3 separate regions of the Homo sapiens genome follow, and regions 1 and 3 are each linked to region 2. Evidence: promoter capture Hi-C in 16 types of primary human blood cells and fetal thymus (Javierre and others, 2016). All regions are on one chromosome and are shown on one strand. Each heading gives the region's core, a stretch centred on a gene start or on the middle of the fragment in contact. The rest is flanking DNA. Distances are from core to core; before and after follow the strand shown.

Evidence for each region. The method cuts DNA at HindIII sites, captures the fragments that hold promoters and counts their contacts. A CHiCAGO score of 5 or more calls a contact.
Region 1: the fragment with the promoter of PLEKHS1 here is called in contact with the fragment with the promoter of FHIP2A in region 2 in 5 of 17 cell types (total B cells, M0 macrophages, non-activated CD4 T cells and 2 more); the score reaches 12.8 in total B cells.
Region 3: a contact is called between the fragment with the promoter of NRAP here and the fragment with the promoter of FHIP2A in region 2, in 1 of 17 cell types (non-activated CD4 T cells). The highest score is 6.4, in non-activated CD4 T cells.

Annotation. Positions count from the first base shown.
Region 1 is chr10:113,750,152-113,753,609 of GRCh38, reverse strand. It overlaps PLEKHS1 (pleckstrin homology domain containing S1), which reads right to left and starts at 1,928. Exons shown (of 13, transcript NM_001395068.1): 1 at 1,849-1,928. The HindIII fragment of the contact is 1,743 bases long and covers 1,795-3,458 here.
Region 2 is chr10:114,820,357-114,823,482 of GRCh38, reverse strand. FHIP2A (FHF complex subunit HOOK interacting protein 2A) reads right to left here and starts at 1,703. Exons shown (of 17, transcript NM_020940.4): 1 at 1,360-1,703. The coding sequence starts at 1,404. It overlaps LOC124902508 (translation initiation factor IF-2-like), which reads left to right and starts at 535. Exons shown (of 2, transcript XM_047426127.1): 1 at 535-2,210. The coding sequence starts at 1,382. The coding sequence ends at 1,987. RefSeq lists silencers at 1,005-1,224, 1,285-1,634, 1,645-1,954 and an enhancer at 799-1,299. The HindIII fragment of the contact is 9,749 bases long and covers 1-3,126 here.
Region 3 is chr10:113,662,331-113,665,602 of GRCh38, reverse strand. NRAP (nebulin related anchoring protein) reads left to right here and starts at 1,562. Exons shown (of 42, transcript NM_198060.4): 1 at 1,562-1,792; 2 at 2,157-2,251; 3 at 2,837-2,924. The coding sequence starts at 1,721. The HindIII fragment of the contact is 5,999 bases long and covers 1,273-3,272 here.

The sequences.
Region 1 (3,458 bases), core at 679-3,178, 1.1 Mb after region 2:
GTGATCATTTGAACAAATTACAACTTTTCTCGGGCATCTGAAGGCATATGTTGAAGAACCGGTGCCCTTAGCCCTCGCCTGCTGTAGCGGGCACACTCAGCTCTGTGCAATGAGCTATAATGCCTGGGAAAGATGCCAAGCTATTGAGGCCGAAGGCTGTTGTTTCCTGGAAGAGCAATTCTGTGTGAGAAAGAGAACGTAACCTCTTCAAAACCTTGCCCACTCCCCAAAATGCATGGATAATATTTAAAAAATTATCCCTGAGATTTCTTATCAAATCCATGAGGTTCTTTCCAGTTTCAAGGATTTCACTGCCTGAAGAGCTGGGGACAAGCGGTTTTCAACCCATCACCTTTCCCTCTGTCCATGTTTATAGGACTTGGCCACGCCCCCTATGCAGCTGTTAGCCTAATGAGTGATGGCCCTCAAGGATCCAATCGGAGAAATGTGCAGGAGAGATTAGCTGTGGGTGGCATATTTTAAAGCAGTGTTTACTGCAAGCTGTTTTTGAGCTGCTGTTTGTCAAAAAGCCAAAAAATCATTTTAAAAAATATTTCTAAAGCCTTTAAAGTTTATAAAATGCATTTGCATACATTATTTTTTTGTGTTCAGAATGGCTTCATTCTGAGATAGCTCATTTTACAAATGAAAAGCTGCATTTGAGAGAAGACTGAGATGACTTGGACCTAGGTCCCCTGGCAGAACTCCACACAGCACCACATTCATGCTCATGGACACTCCCAAATAACATTTGCCCTCCCTGTGCCCTGTGGATGTCAAAGTGTGCTTTGGAGGACATCTCTGTCCTTCCAGTGTCTGCAAAGGGCTCCAGAGTCATGTGCTGCAACCATTCCTCCTTCATCTCCCCACCCACCGTAAAATGAGAGGACAGATAAGGCAGTAGGGTGTGGTGGTTTAGAGTGTTAGCTCTGGCATCTGGGTTTAAATTTCATCTCCATGAATTATGAGGAATGTGATCTTGGATACTTTATAATACTTCTCTACACCTCCATTTCTTCATCTGTAACATGAAGGTTATTACTACCCTCATCAGATTGCTGGGAGTATCACTTGAGATACCCTGTTGATGAGCACTCCTCAGTACATAATAGAAGCTCAATAAATGCTAGTTGTTAGGTCCTTTCCAGCTCAGATATTCTATGATTCTATGGTTGTTTAATAATGGGTAGCATTTTTTGAGTACTTAATACATTCCAGGCACTTCTAAGCAATATGTATATGAAAGATTTTATGTATATGTATACATATAATTTCACATATACATATAAAATCTCATCCTAACCTCATAACCGTACTCTAAAGCTTGCACTGTTTTCACAATGATACAATGCCCATTTACAGACGAGGAAATGGTTATCGGAGAGATTAAACAACTTTACTTTGATCATGTAATTAAAAAGAAGCAGAACCAGAATTCTAGCTTGAGAGCTGGCCTTAACTACTTTGCTTTTCCTCCTATCTAAGAAAGTAGAATTAAGTCTTTTCATAGTTCTGCTTGTTTTTCTTGTCATTGCCCCCAAACAAAAAAGAAAGCCTTTCTGATTTAGCTGTTTGATCTCATTCAGGAGAATCTCCCCACAGTCACTGCCTGACCCATTTATTATAACATTATTTTGGATTTGGTGAATACAGTATACCAAGAGGTCAGTCCTATTTCCCTCTGACTATAGTATAGCCTAGGAAGCTTATGAAGAAAGTGCCCATAACAGAAATACAGCATATCTGCAAAATTTTCCATTTCCAATTTTGCAATTGTTCAATTGCAAAAAAGCTTCTAGATCATCCCAGCCTTGGAAGTCCAAACCAGATACACCAAGCAGTACTTACTGGAAGCCAAGAGGTCGCTGGTCCAGTGCTCAGGAAAGTGCCTTGTCCCGAGGATTCCTGAACTCACTCCTGCTGACTCTGAGCCTTGGTGCCTGGGTGAGGATTAAGCACAAACTCTGCTTGAAATCTGAACCACCAGGAAGTTCCCAAACTAATATCCTTGAGCAGATTTTATTCTTGCCCCAAACTGAAATGGAAGCTATGCCCTCAGGGGAAGTTCTGGGCCTTCATACTTGTGGCTTGCCACAGAACTCTCCTTGGTGTCCCAGCTGCCTAGCACCAAAAATGAAAGCAAACACATTAATAATAAAAAAAAATTCCTGCCAGACTTTGGACCATGGTCACAATAACCCTTATTGAGAACAACGCCAATTTACCCTCAACCGTCTGTGGTGACTACCATTGAAAAAAAATCCCTATGCCTCCCTCAGCCATATCTTAACCAATGTCTTCCTGGGAAGGGTAGAAAGGGTTCCTTTGTACCAGATGAGGAAACAAAAGCCTGGCTTCTCTAAACACTTGTACATGCCAATGGTTTCCAGGAAGAGTTGCTCATTCAGCCATGACAGAGTGTTACCATCAACAGGGTGGCGCTAGGCATGTTCCCCTGCACAGCCACCAACAGCAATTGAGCAAACCATCATTCTTAGACCTGGTGAGTGGTATCCAGCCACCAAAGGGTCTTAGGTATATTTTCATGTGTATTACAGATTTCTAGGGGAGAGGAAGAAGTGATGATGAATTTTATCCTGTTCTACTGCCTTTAGAAGTAAAAGTACATCATTTGAATCCTCATCCTCACGAGGGTAGCTGGTCTGGAATCAGCTCTGCCATGGATCCATTGTGTGGTCTTGGCAAGTTAACTGGAGTTCTCTGAGTCTGTTTCCTCATCTGCAAAATGGAACAGATAATACTGACTTCACAGGATTTTTTTTTAAAGTTAAGTAAAATTTCACATATAAAAAGCATCTAGCACAGTGCTTTATCCACAGTTAGCATTCAACAGAGGGTATTTCTTTGTTTTTCTCTTTTGCATCCTATGGAGGGTAGATGTTATTGGTTTCTTCATTTAGCAAACCTAGCTGGACTTCAGGCATACAGAAATTATTGATATATTGTTTGCTTCCTGCACAGGACCAGTTTTGCTTGATTTAGGAAAAACAATTTCTTAATTTTGATATAGTTTGGATGTCCCCTCCAAATCTCATGTTGAGATGTAATCCCCAGTGATGGAGGTGGAGTCTGGCTGGAGGTGTTGGGTCCTGGGGGTGGATCCCTCATGGCTTGGTTCTGTGTCTGAGATAGTGAGTTGTACTGAGGTCTTTATTTAAAAGTGTGTGGCATCTCCCCCAACTCTACTGCTCCCACTCCCACCAGGTGACATGGCTACTCCCGCCTCACCTTCCACCATGCGTAAAAGAAAGCCCCCTGAGGTCTTCTCAGAAGCTGAGAGATGCCAGGACTATGCTTCCTGTACAGCTTGCAGAACCATGGGCCAATTAAACCTCTTTTCTTTATAAATTATCAAATCTCAGGTATTTCTTTATAACAAGACAGAGATAGACCTAACAGAATTTCCTGGATGTTCTTTTGGGCTAACTTTTGATAAT
Region 2 (3,126 bases), core at 454-2,953:
ATTAAATGATTCTTGGTATTTTTAAAGAAAACAAAATTTAAATGTTTTAATAAACTGCAGTTAAATTCTTTCAACAAAAGTAGAGTGTGTATAAGCAAGTAAAAACTAAAAGTTGTCTTGAAGTCTACCACTGTCATTTCCCTCCGTGTAATACTGCTCTACATTTATGAAACCCTGTTTTTCCTGTTTGATACATTTTCCCAAGAGCTTGCCCTAGAGCTAAATTTTTTAACGCTTCTCATGTATCACTTAAATAACAATTGTACTAAAGTTTGTTTTTATTACTGAAGGCAAAAACTCCATTTTTGCCTGCCCATAAAAAATCATTGTTGTATCTGACATTTTTAAAGTGTACATTTTAAAGTGTCCTATCACATAATATGAACATAGGAAGAGAATGTCATGTTAAAAATTAGCAAAGTAATTGTTTCTGCACAGAATGCATTTTTCAATTTGGGCAGTTCTCCCAGAATAAAGTAAACAAGTGAAGCAACTAGCATTCTTACTAGAACAGTGACAAGGCATTTTCTTTTTAGTTTCTTTTCACTTATTAGTCTACTAGGATACTTGAATACTGTCTCTATGCTGGTGTCTAAAACCCTCAAAGGAGAGTACAATTGCAGGATAAACGAAGAGTGTCCAGGAAGAGAACTAGACAAGAAAGGAAACAGATGGTCTCTGGGCTCGGTGAGCTTGGAAGCTGTCGAAAGCAAACTCGACTGGACCCTCCAAACTCCTATTTCAGATCAATACATAAGGTTCAGCTGAGTTCGGCCTCCAGGCCCAAGAAAGCAAAAGCCAGCAACCCGGGGGCTGGTCGGCGGCTCCCTCGCCAGGGACGCCCCACAGCGAGACCATGCCTCTCCCACCTCTACCCCCGAAAACCAAAACAAAACAGAACCAAGCCCAAGCGGTGCTTGCTCGTTTCTTTTGTCTTGCTCAACGCTGACCACTTTTTTTCCGGAGAAGGTTAACGTTAAGGGAGCCCGGGGGAGCTCTCTGCGACCCCGCCAGGTGCTCCCCGAACCCCCGGCCCCATCAGAGGAATGAGGCGACCACCGAGCGGCGTTGGGCGGCCAGGTCCTCCCCGGCACCCCCGCCCCGGCTCCTGGAGGAGGGCAGGGACTGCCGGCCTGGGGCAGCCAGGGACCGACGGGACCCCCGCAGAGCCAGGCCCGAGGCCCCGGGCGCCCCCACGACCCGGCGGCCGCCCAGGGCGCCCGCCTGGGGCCTCACCCCAACCGGGGACAGGGCCGCCGAGGGCCGGGCCAAGGCCGCCCGGCTTGTCCCCGAGGCCGCCGGGGAGCGTAGGCCGCCGCCATCCCCGGCCTGCCGTGCGCCCGCAGCCCGCGGCCTTACCGCCTCCACGGCGTGCTGCAGGATGGAGGTGAACTTGGAGAACATCCTGTCCCGGGACTGCAGCAGCCTCTCCCGGGACGACCTGGAGAGCTCCTCGATCCGCCGCCGCCGCCCCTGCTGCGGCTGCCGGGGCCGCTCCAGAGTGAAGGCCGGTGCGGGGCGGGGAGGACGAGCTGAGGATCGAGGCAGGGCCTGGCCCGGCCGCTTCAGGTGTGCGCGGGCGGCTCGGCGGCTCCGGAGGGCGCCGGGACGCGGCGGGCGGCGAGGAGGGCGTTCGGCGAGGACTCGGGGCCCGGAGAAGCTCCGGCGGCGGCACCGGTTGGGACACGGTGGCAGCCCGGCTCGGGTTCCTTCCCCCCGCTCTGCCCGCCGCGGCCTGCAGGGGGCGCCGCCGCAGCCCGGGGAGGCCCGGCCAGGCCTGCCCTGCGGCGGGGCCGCTAGGCGCCGCGGGGGCGGGGGGCGCGCTGAGGCCTCGGCCTCGCGCGGGGCTGGAGGCGGCCTGTGGGCAGCCACCGCCCTCTCCCGGCTTTCTCAGGGCGCCTGGGACACCGGCTTTCTAACATTTTTACAGCTCAGCGATTCTCAAGAGTTTTGTTTCTCCAGTGGAAGTAACAGGCTGACTTTGTAGGGACACGCAGCCGTCCATATATGCGTATAGCATTCAGAGGTTCTTCCTGTAAGGACCGATTTGGAAGACTCGTTAAGAAAACAGTGTTCTTTAAGCAAACATTGGCAATGGATTTAAATGCTCAGATTTTGAAGAAATCAACGACTGCAGGTGAAATGGCTTTGCTAACTTTAAAATATATTATTATTCAACATTGAAACAGGAAATCCCACATGAGCACATGGTAAGACGGCTGGCTTAGTTTAAATAGCCCATTATAATATTTATATATAATATATAACATAATTTATTTGTGATATGGTTGATAGTGAGGTGTAGTGATTCAGAACAGCATTTTCTATTCAGTTATCAGATGATACCGGAAAACATTAGCGAGGGAAAGAATCTGAAAGGAGTCCAGTAAATGCCTAAGGCAGATAAATAGAGCTACAAGGTAAGCACTTGGGTGGAGGCTGCTTAAAATACTCCCTAACAGTGTATTAGTCAAGCCTTGAAGAAGCAGTTCAGGCTGGTAAAGTTTAGGTTGAGTTAATACAAATTATGAAAATATTTGTATCCTGAAGAAATTTGTTTTATGCTGGTATTGGCGTTTTACCAAAAGGTTCATTAAGTTCTTAAGATGAGGTGGGGAGTGAGTTTTGCACAACCAGTGCTGAAAATACGTATCTGGCCCAGGCGCGGTGGCTCACGCCTGTAATCTCAGCACTCTGGGAGGCAAAGGCGGGAGGATCACTTGAGGCCAGGAGTTCGAGACCAGCCTGGCCAACATGGTGAAACTCCGTCTCTATTAAAAATACAAAAAAAAAAAAAAAAAAAAAATTAGCCGAACGTGGTGGTGTAATGGGATTACATGCTTGTAATCCCAGCTACTTGGGAGGCTGAGGCAGGAGAATCCTTGAACTCGGGAGGCGGAAGTTGCAGTGAGCCAAGGTTGCGCCATTGCGCTCCAGCCTGGACAACAAGAGCAAAACTCCATCTCAAAAAAAAAAAAAAAAATACACACACACACACACACACACACACACACACACACACATACATGTATACACACACATACGTTTATACATACACAAACGTATATATACACATACGTATATATACATGTATACACACACACACGTATATATATCTGTAATTGA
Region 3 (3,272 bases), core at 313-2,812, 1.2 Mb after region 2:
GCTGGTGGCAGCCCTCCTGCCCAATCACGTTTCAGTGTGGGAGTCTTTGCTGAGCCTGGAGTCCCTGCTTTGAGTCCCCTCCCCATGCTGAGAGAGCCCTAGCCCCATGTGGGAAAACCTGAGACTCCGCCTTCCCCTTATACTCATGTGGACTTGAATGCTACTCTTCTTCATTGGCTTTAGAGCTTCTTCCTACCCCCTGGCTATCTCAGCACAACCCCAAAATACTACTCATCTTACTCCACCCTACCTGGGGACACCAACCTAACCTCAGAACATTTAGGGCCAAGGTCACAAATTGGTAACCTGCTGGCCAAATACTGCCCACGACTCTGTTATATTGTTTTATATACAAAAAGGGGAATTTCATTTGTAAATGCAGACTTCTGGTGTGCTCAGAATATTTGGAAAATATTCCGGAAAAATCAGGATATTTGGCAACCTGGAATGTTGATTGTTTCATGATGACAGTTGGCTGGGACTGAGGAGCAGTTGCCTGCTTCAGATGGGATGAGTGCTCATCTATTTGGAAAAGTTCCTACCATTATCTAGACTTCATACCTGGCCTCTATAGGCATTTTGGTGTGAGTATTAAATTTATTTCATTAATCCAATAAATCTTTATTAAGCACCTTTTATTGGCAGACCTTGTTCTAGGCATGGGGGATATAGAAGTGGCAAAAAGGACCAAAGATCCTGTTTAGACAGAACTCATATTTTGATGGGAGAGACACAATTTTTAAAAATAGAAACATTAACATGTAATATGTCCAGCTGTGATTACCACTATGAAGACCATCAAGCAGGCTAAGAGTAATGGAAGATAATGAGATAGGAGTGGGGACAGGTGAGGTGCCATTTTGTATCAGGTATTTCTATAAGGTGATAAGGTGACATTTCAGCAGAGACTGAAGGCAATGAGAGGCTTCCCAAAGCCAGGAAGAGAGATTCTGTCTTCATATCACCTCTTTTAAGGCCTGTGAGGCAAGGGAACAAGCACAAAGGCCTTCTTGGAACATTCTAGAATAAAATACAGAGGCCAAAACACCAAGAGTTCTCATTAGTTTTTAGTTTTGCGTTCCAGTAGAAGCTAAACACAAACTAACACCTTATTAAGTTTTTAGTTTAACTGTTGTAAACGCTTTGGGTAGGTAAAGTTAAAATTCAAGTGTGATATTTATCCATTTAAAGGAGTGAATCAATCCTATTTTATTTTCTATATTTTTGGGAGCTGGCCTTTCTGCTTTAGTCATAGGACGCATAGAGCAAGCTTTTCTAATTTGATTGTTGGATGACGGTGTGGCATCTTCCTTTAGGTTCTTTTCTTGGGTCATGATCACAGCTAGTGCTAAACCACTCCATGCTGCCTGATCATACACCAGGGTTTGGTTATCCACATAAACATGATGCTGTTGTGAGTTCATTTTTCTATTTAGAGAAGCATGTCAGCTAGAAATACTTCCACCTTATTTCCCAGACACATGCGTGCTGAGTGAGTGGCCAAAATAGCCCCTTGAGTAAGTGGCAGCTTTAAAAACCATCCAACTGCTGACTTCAAACTAGAAGGTCAGCAAAGGAAAGTGGAAGTTGGATTCTGAAAGATCGAGGTGCCCACAGGAATTTTATGGTCGTCGGATTTTGAAGACTTGAACTAGACTGGGGGTTCTCCTTGCATTTCTTGCCTGTTGCCTATCTTTGTCCTCTCTCTTCCGGCTTCGAGATGAATGTGCAGCCCTGTTCTAGGTGTGGGTATGGGGTTTATCCTGCCGAGAAGATCAGCTGTATAGATCAGGTCAGTAGACATTTCTTGGCTTTTGTGAATAATAACAAACACAGGAAATTGACCTTCTCACATATGGACATAGGTAAATATGGAAATTTAATTTTCAGTTAAATTGTTTTGAACCACAAGAAAAAGTTATATTTTCTCACCTTTATTTAGTTCTACACATTTCTATTTCTTCTGTGTTGTCTCAAAAAAAAAAAGTTATCCATTTATTTAACCGTGAGTGTTGTTATAGCTGTGTGTGTGGATTTTAATTTTTTTAAAATCAGCATTTTATCCTCGAAGTTCATTTTTTTACCCTAAAATATATAAGAACCTTGAGTCTGGGGGGAAAAGGGTAATTGCTAAATCTTCTCTATATGATTTCTAGATATGGCATAAAGCCTGTTTTCACTGTGAAGTTTGCAAGATGATGCTGTCTGTTAATAACTTTGTGAGTCACCAGAAAAAGCCGTACTGTCACGCGTAAGTGTTTGATGCCCCCACCACTACCTCTTGAGTTTTATTTGTTTTTCAACAAGGAGCCAACTAAACGTTCAAATCATATAACCCAGGGTTAAATCCAAGAAATATCTTCTCCCAAAGTGTTCCCTTGTATCCTGTCATTAAAGAGACCTAAGGTGGGATTTTATGCAATGGACACAAAACTTCAAATTTCTTCCAAGTAAAAGATCAAATATATCCACTATAACCTCATGTCAAATTATTAAATACTGTGCAGAACAATGTAATGGCCATAAATATGCATATAGAGCTTTGAAGTATTTTCTTTTAAATAATTTCAGAATCCTTTTTTACTTTCTTCAGAAAGTTTTCAAGTGATCATTTCCAGTTAAATTTAGGCTTTCAGTTATATATGTCGATTTTATTTGATTTGCTTTTTTTTCTGTAAGATGCATTGCCTGGAAAATCACGAACTTAATTTTTAAGTTTTACATTTATTGATTTTTTAAAAATAACTGTTATTATTTAAAAATAATTTTAAGAATAGTCCCTCAATCATTTGGATAAAGTACATTTCTAATTTTGATTTATACCTATTTGTTGTAGCCATAACCCTAAGAACAACACTTTCACCAGTGTCTATCACACTCCATTAAATCTAAATGTGAGGACATTTCCAGAGGCCATCAGTGGGGTAAGTTATTTAATTTTCAGTGGGATGGAGGGTATGGAGAATGATTGGTTACTGGGTAGAAACATGCAAATAGATAAAAGGAATATATTCTAGCCAGGCACAGTGGCTCACACCTACAATTCCAACACTTTGGGAGGCCAAAGCGGGCAGATGGTTTGAGCTTGGGAGTTAGAGACTAGCCTGGGCAACATAGTGAGACCCTGTCTTTATTTCTTAAAAAGTTAAATAAATAAAAGAAGGAACATGTTGTAATGTCCTATAGCAGACAGAGTAGGATGACCACAATTAACAACAATGTATCATATATTTCAAAATAGCTAGAATAGAAATGATAAATACTCGAGCCGA